Regions from separate parts of the Homo sapiens genome. Here region 2 is linked to region 1. Evidence: promoter capture Hi-C in 16 types of primary human blood cells and fetal thymus (Javierre and others, 2016). All regions are on one chromosome and are shown on one strand. Each heading gives the region's core, a stretch centred on a gene start or on the middle of the fragment in contact. The rest is flanking DNA. Distances are from core to core; before and after follow the strand shown.

Evidence for each region. The method cuts DNA at HindIII sites, captures the fragments that hold promoters and counts their contacts. A CHiCAGO score of 5 or more calls a contact.
Region 2: a contact is called between a fragment that was not itself captured here and the fragment with the promoter of FTSJ1 in region 1, in 1 of 17 cell types (neutrophils). The highest score is 5.3, in neutrophils.

The regions. Positions count from the first base shown.
Region 1 is chrX:48,473,574-48,477,570 of GRCh38, reverse strand. It overlaps FTSJ1 (FtsJ RNA 2'-O-methyltransferase 1), which reads right to left and starts at 1,372. Exons shown (of 13, transcript NM_012280.4): 1 at 1,175-1,372. It overlaps LOC124905185 (a long non-coding RNA gene), which reads left to right and starts at 1,228. Exons shown (of 2, transcript XR_007068226.1): 1 at 1,228-1,692; 2 at 2,383-3,343. The HindIII fragment of the contact is 16,848 bases long and covers 1-3,997 here.
Region 2 is chrX:49,128,381-49,132,237 of GRCh38, reverse strand. No RefSeq gene overlaps it. Among named protein-coding and RNA genes, the nearest start is that of GPKOW, 6.6 kb to the right of the region's middle. The HindIII fragment of the contact is 7,777 bases long and covers 1-3,857 here.

The DNA.
Region 1 (3,997 bases), core at 123-2,622:
TTCATATAGTCCTATTAGCCCCCATTAATCCCTTGTTTTCCACCTTTATCCTAATACTACTTCATTGTACCTCCCACTCCCTATATCTCTCTCGTTTCACCCCATTCGCCATTAATCCCTTAGATGATTAGGCCCCTTTATTACTACATCCTTATGAACCTCTAACAATGCCTGGAGAATCATGGTCTATTAGCTCCCCATTAAGCATTCAATTACTGATTTATCAGCCCCCATTAACTCAGTTTTCTCCAATAGACCCTTCATAGATCACAGCACTAGCCTCCTGCCCTGTAACTCTTTCATTAACAAACACGTTAACTGATCACACATCAGTTCCCCATTCTCCCCTCACTGTCCACCCTGCTCTCCATGGATCCATCACTGGATGATCACACTCCAACAGTTTACTATTCACCTACTATGTATCAACAGAAGTTAACCCCCCCAACCCTAGTTTACTATTGCCCTCTCTTTACTCACTCTGTCCCCTAATTCCTCGACGGTCATGCCACCATAGCCCAACTACTGACTCTGACTACAACACCATCAGCCTCTCATTATCTTTTCTTTCACCAAGGCCCCTTGATCATGACCTCCATCCATCTATTATTCCCCCCACAACCTCACCATCATCCTTGCCATTACGATGCCCCATCACTTTCCATTAACCCGTTGAATATCATACCTCCATCAATACCTGGGGGATCATTTTCCCATCCATCACTCGTTATATTCTAGTTGCTTACTCTGCCATCCCCTCATTAATCAATCAATGAACAACAGTTCGACTAAAATATTCTTATTAGCCCCCATTGATTCCCCAGTAACACCCCACCCTCACGCTCCACCCAACCTCCCAAAACAGCCTTCTGACCACACTCCCCGTCCCTCCTCATCAATACCTCAAAGATGATAGCTCCATCGGGACCACCGGGTACCCCTCCAGGCGGCTCCGACCGCTGCGTCCCATGTCCCCACCTCGAATCCACCCCGTCTACTGGTCCCCTTCTGCAGACAAACCTTGGGTCTAGAACCCACCCGGTGCCAGCCGCCCGAACCATACACAGCTACGGCGCCCAGGGCGGACCTCCCTCCTTTCCCCGCAGGCGGGACAGTGCAGGCGTGCCTCAATAGCCTCCGCCCGCATTCCTGTCCTCCGCGCCCCAGGGCCCACCTTAGTTTTCGGAGCAGGGTGGTCCGCGAGCAGCCTGTGCCTCGGCGAGAGCGCAAACGGGCGACAAGTCCTAGGGCTTCAGTTTGTGTTCGTAGTCCACCCGAATGCCCGGGGGGGCAAGCCTATGGGCTGTCGCAGCGTGGCAAACTCGGCATCGTGGATCGCCCAGGTTCCGGCGGGCCGGGACCTGATGTGAACGTACAACGTGAGCCCCGTCATCTATTGTCGACGTATCCGGGGCTCGCGAACTGCGTTTCCCGGCATGCAACGGGCACGGCCAAAGCGGCTGAATCCACGCACTGCGTGGCTGCAGCGACGCGACGCGCAAGTTGCCAGCGATTCTTTGTTCTTTTTCTTCCGAGGCCAAGATCGATTTGCTCCCCCGCCCCTCCCTTCTTGGACCGTGCTTGTTATTGAGCCTGTAAACTACATTTCCCAAGATGCCACGCGCAAGATGGCGCCCATTCATTTTTCGCGTGCCGGGAAGCGAAATTACCACTCGGGGCATAAACGTGACAGTAAGGAAAATGCGTTCTTGAAGTGCGCGAGCGCGCGGAGGCTGCTCGGCTGCAATTTCAGATCGCACTACAGCTAATGCATGGCGCTGCCTGAGTTTTACTGCCTCAGAACTTCAGTTTCCCTGTCTGGAAAGTGGGGATAATCAATAGTATAGACTTAACAGCATTATTGGGAGGGTTAAATAGGTGTAGCTTAGCCACTCTCTGGGCTTTTGTAATTCTGTGATCTTCAAATATTTTAAATTCCATCCCAGACACAAAAAAAGACTATACATCCTGACCCAGTGGACAAACGGAAAAATAATGAAAACGTTTATCATAGTGTTTACCATGTGCTAGGCTCTAAATGCCCTCAGTGGTGTGCTGGTAAATGGTTAACCACTGGCTGGGGCGGGGGTGGTGGCGGGGAGGGGTGGGGGGAAGGGAGGCTGGTTTCTAGCATTTACCAATTTCCATGGCTTAGGTACAATCTTCTTGTTAGATTTCAAGGTACCGACCTGTGGTCACTGAACAGGGAGTTTAAAAGAGATGCAGTAGTGCACTATCATGTATTATTTTTACCATACAGATAAAATGGGGGTAAATGACCTCAAGAGCATAGAGAATAGTGGAATGTGGTAAAATTAGGAAGTTACCAGTTTTGAGTAAGTTTATATCATTTCATTTTTAACCATAGCTGTTTAACTTTAGGGGGCTGAGGTGGAAGGATCGCTTGAGTCCAGGACTTCAAGACCAGCCTGGGCAATATGGTGAGATCCCCGTCTCTACAAATAATAAAAATAGCCGGGCGTGGTGGTGTGTGCGAGTAGTTCCAGCTACTTGGGAGGCTGAGGTGGGAGGATTGCATGAGCCTGGGAGGTCAAGGCTGCAGTGAGCCTTGATCTTGCCACTGCACTCCACTGTGGGTGACAGAGTGAGACCCTGTCTCAACAAACAAACAAAACCAGTTGTTAAACCAGCTGTTTAACAACCAGTTTGCAAAATTTCTGAAAATTGAACAGCTCCTCCCAACCTGTATAAGTTGGCTCCAGCATGTCCTTCCCTTTGTTCATTCATTTTAATCCTGGCAACATGCATATGAGTATTAGCCAGGGGCGGCGGCATGTGCCTTTAGTCCCAGCTACTCCAGAGGCTGAGGTGGGAGGATCCCTGGAGCCCAGGGGTTTGAATCTAGTCTGGGCAACATAGCGAGAACCCATGTCTCTTTAAAAAATAAAAGGGCTGGATGCAGTGGCTCACGCCTATAATCCCAGAACTTTGGGAGGGCGAGGCGGGGGGATCACTTGAGGTCAGGAGTTGGAGACCAGCCTGGCCAACATAGTGCAACCCCGTCTCTACTAAAAATACAAAAATTAGCTGGGCGTGGTGATGCGCACCTCTAGTCCCAGCTACTCAGGAGGCCAAGGTGGGAGGATCACTTGAACCTGGGAGGTGGAGGTTGCAGTGAGCCGACATCGTGCTACTGCACTCCAGCTTGGGCGACAGAGTGAGACCCTGTCTCAAGAAAAAAAAAAAAAACAGAATGATTGATTCCTTAGCACACGAGCTTCACCAGGCAGGGATTCCTGTTCTGTCATGTTCACTGCTGCCTCCCAGTGCCTGGAACAGGGGTGGCGCACAGTTGGTGTTCAATAAATGTTGGTTGAATTCATCCTTTTGTTGCTTCGTTCCTTAATTTTTTCCCCAGTGGTGCGTCCTGCATTTCTATGGAGCCCTGGGTGGAGGCGTAGAGACTCTGAGAACCAGGGAAGAAGCCAGAGCTTTGTCAGCAGAACTCAAGGGCATTGTGGGACTGTGGGAACATGACTCCCCTGCAGAGGCGAGCGAGTGTGAGAAAGGAAGGGTTCGAGCCACCAGGCCTCCGCTCCACAAGAGAGGAGGGGGTGCCAGGCATTGGGGGCCCATGTTCACCCTGTGGGACGCTTCCCACGTCCTGTTTTCTTGTCGCTCACGAAGAGGATGTTTAACTTTTAGCAAAGAAACTTGCTTCCTCCAGCAGGACCGGGGGTTTGGGGGACAGGAGCCAGGCTCTGAACTCTCCAGGCTCTTCCCGAAGTAGGGTGTCGGCCTGCAGCTCCCACCCGGCACCCCACTGAGTGTAAAGGTGTCCTTCCCTTGGCCTCCTGGAGGGGTCAAGGAAGGGGGAGCTGCCAGGCCAGCTCTTTCCCGGTGGGGGCATCTTAGCAGTGTGAGGGAACGAGGGGGGTGGCCCAGGGGCAGGGGACTAGGACTTTGCTGCCCAGGGGCTGCTTTGAGGAAAGGAAGTGACTGGAAAGAGTTACTCCGTGGGGAGCCTGCATGAAAG
Region 2 (3,857 bases), core at 231-2,730, 650 kb before region 1:
AAGTTGCCCAGGCTGGTCTCGAACTCCCAGCCTCAAGTGATTGTCTTGCCTCAGCCTTCCAAAGTGAACTAATTCTTTTTTTTTTTTTTTTTTTTTTTGAGATGGAGTTTTGCTGTTGTTCCCCAGGCTGGAGTGCGGTGGCGTAATCTCAGCTCACTGCAACCTCCACCTCCCAGGTTCAAGCAATTCTCCTGCTTCAGCCTCCTGAGTAGTTGGGATTACAGGGGCCTGCCACCACGCCCAGCTAATTTTTGTATTTTTAGTAGAGATGGGGTTTCACCATGTTGGCCAGGCTGGTCTCAAACTCTTGACCTGGTAATCCGCCCGCCTCATCCTCACAAAGTGCTGGAATTATAGGAGTGAGCCACCGCACCCGGCCGTGATTTGTACTTCTTTCTTTTTTTTCTTTTTTTCTTTTCGTGTGTGTGTGTGTGTGTGTGTGTGTGTGTGTGTGTGTGTCTGTGTGATGGAGTTTAACTCTTGTCGCCCAGGCTGGAGTGCAATGGCGCGATCTCGGCTCACTGCAACCTCCGCCTCCCACGTTCAAGCGATTCTCCTGCCTCAGCCTCCCGAGTAGCTGGGATTACAGGTGCCCGCCACCACGCCCAGCTAATTTTTTTGTATTTTTACAAAAAATAGAGATGGGGTTTCACCATATTGGCCAGGCTGGTCTCGAACTCCTGACCTCAGGTGATCCGCCCACCTTGGCCTCCCAAAGTGCTGGGATTACAGGCATGAGCCACTGTTCCCAGCCTGTATATCTTATGTTATGAAATACCTGATTATGTCCATTGCCTATTTTTCAGTCAGGGATTTCCTGCAGTTGATAGTTATTGAATTGGAGGAGCTCTTTGCATTTTGGGGATGTTGACCCTGTATGTTTTATGCATGTTACTTTTTGGGGTTTTTTTGAAACAGGGTCTTGCTCTGTTGTCCAGGCTGGGGTGCGGTGGCACGATCTTGGCTCACTGCAGCCTTGACCTCCTGGGCTCAAGCAATCCTCCCATCTCAGCCTCCCGAGTAGCTGGGATTACAGGCGCCTGCCACCATGCCCTGCTAATAATTTTATTTTTATATTTTATTTTATTTTATTTTTGAGATGGAGTCTCACTCTGTCACCCAGGCTGGAGTGCAGTGGCATGATCTCAGCTCACTGCAACCTCCGCCTCCCAAGTTCAAGCGATTCTTCTGCCTCAGCTTTCTGAGTAGCTGGGATTACAGGTGTGCACCACCACGCCTGGCTAATTTTTGTATTTTTAGTAGAGACAGGGTTTCACCATATTGACCAGGCTGGTCTTGACCTCCTGACCTCGTGATCCACCCGCTTAGGCCTCCCAAAGTGCTATGATTACAGGTGTGAGCCACCGCGCCAGGCCAATTTTTGTATATTTTGTAAAGATGGGGTTTTGCCATGTTGCCCAGGCTGTTCTACCTTTTTTTTTAAATACTTTTAAATAAAACACAAATTTTTGTCATGTCCCATAACCTTCTCATGACTTCCTCATTACCCCAGCAAAGTCCTAATATTCCCTGCTATCCATGACCTAGCCTCTGCACCTCACTCCAACTTCACTTCCTGCCATCCTTCACAATCCTTTTTCAGTCTTCGGTCCATTTTGGAAGTAGTGCTGGGCACAATTAATCCCCATTTTGTCTGTTTGACCACCCTTCCCTACAGCCATCTGTGTCTGAGGTCTTAGACACATTTGTAATCCCTGATTTTCCCATCTCATATGAGTTCCTTGGAGGCAGGACCTGTTAACAGAGTGGATACTCAATTAATGATTATTGAATGAGCAAAAGAATAAATGGCTGGTTTTGTAAAACTTGGATATGGTTTTCCTTAATTATATGGTAAGCAAATACTTTTCTAAATGTTACTCCTGATTTTTTCAGTATGAAGTAAAGACAGAAACAAAGGTCTTTTCTCTTATTATATATTTTTCTTCCTCCCTCTTTTTTATTCTTTTGTTACAGACAGGATCTCACTATGTTGCCCAGCCTGGTCTCAAACTCCTGGGTACAAGCAACACTCCCACCTTTGCCTCCAGGGTAGCTGAGGATACAGGCATGAGTCACCATTATATTTTCACCACCAAAAATTTTGCATCAAGTTCTGCTGTGGTGGCTCACGCCTATAATCCCAGCACTTTGGGAGGCCAAGGCGGGTGGATCACTTGAGCTCAGGAGTTCGAGACCAGCCTGGCCAACATGGTGAAACCCCATCTCTACTAAAAATACAAAAATTAGCAGAACGAGGTGGCGCATGGCTGTAGTCCCAGCTACTCGGGAGGCTGAGGCAGGAGAATCGATTGAACCCGGAAGATGGAGGTTGCGGTGAGCCAAGATCACGCCACTGCACTCCAGCCTAGGTGACAGAGCAAGATTGTCTCAAAAAAAAAAATGCATCAGGATCAGGTTAGGCTGGGGTGATCTCCATGATACATCTCAGGAGCAAGTCAGAGACAAAGTGTGAACCAGCTGAGAAGGTAAAACTCTCAGGTTTTCCTAGGAACTCTTGCTTAAAAACAAAAAACAAAACTCCTTCAGGGACCTCTTGTGCCAGCGTGTATAAGGCTGCATTGCGCACATTGCCTCAGGCGGCTGCTTTAGGAAGTGGGTATCACTTCCTCCACGGACAGTTTGCATTGCAGGCAATGGAACCAGTGGAGAAACCTGGTAGACAACACCTTAACCAACTGATTCATGTTCATGTAATTAACAATAGGACTTATCAACATCATGAACTCCTTGATATGATGTGATTAGAAGGGCACATCATCTCCATGACATTCTTGCCCAAAACTCATAATCTCAGTCTAATAAATGAGAAATCACAAGACAAATCTATATTGAGGGGTGTTCCAGAAAATAAGTGAACTATATTTTTCAGAAGTATTTTTTGGACCAGGCGTGGTGGCTCATACCTGTAATCCCAGCACTTTGGGAGGCCAAAGTGGGTGGATTACCTGAGGTCAGGAGTTCAAGACCAGCCTGATCAACATGGTGAAACCCCGTCTACTAAAAATACAAAAATTAGCTGGGCGTGGTGGCACGCACTTGTAATCCCAGCTACTTGGGAGGCTGAAGTAGGAGAATTGCTTGAACCCAGGAGGTGAAGGTTGCGGTGAGCCGTGATGGCGCTGCTGCACTCCAGCCTGGGCCACAGAATGAGACTCCATCTCAAAAAACAAAAAAAAGGCCGGGCACGGTGGCTCACACCTGTAATCCCAGCACTTGGGGAGGCCGAGGCGGGTGGATCACGAGGTCAGGAGTTCGAGACCACTCTGGCCAATATGGTGAAACCCTGCCTCTACTAAAAATACAAAAATTAGCCGGGCGTTTGCGGGTGCCTGTAATCTCAGCTACTCGGGAAGCTAAGGCAGGAGAAATTCTTTTTTTTTTTTTTTTTAATGAGACGGGGTCTCACTCTGTCGCCCAGGCTGGAGTGCAGTGGCGCAGTCTCCGCTCACTGCAACCTCCACCTCCCGGGTTCACACCATTCTCATGCCTCAGCCTCCTGAGTAGCTGGGACTACAGGCGCTCGCCACCACGCCCGGCTAATTTTTTGTATTTTTAGTAGAGATGGAGTTTCACCATGTTAGCCAGGATGGTCTTGATCTCCTGACCTCGTGATCCGCCTGCCTCGGCCTCCCAAAGTGGTGGGATTACAGGTGTGAGCCACCATGCCCAGCCAAGGCAGGAGAAATTCTTGAACCCAGGAGGCAGAAGTTGCAGTGAGCCGAGGTCGCGCCACTGCACTCCAGCCTGGGTGACAGAGTGAGACTCCATTTCAAAAATCAAAAACAAAAAACAAAAACAAAAAGAAAACCAGGCCGGGTGCAGTGGCTCACGCC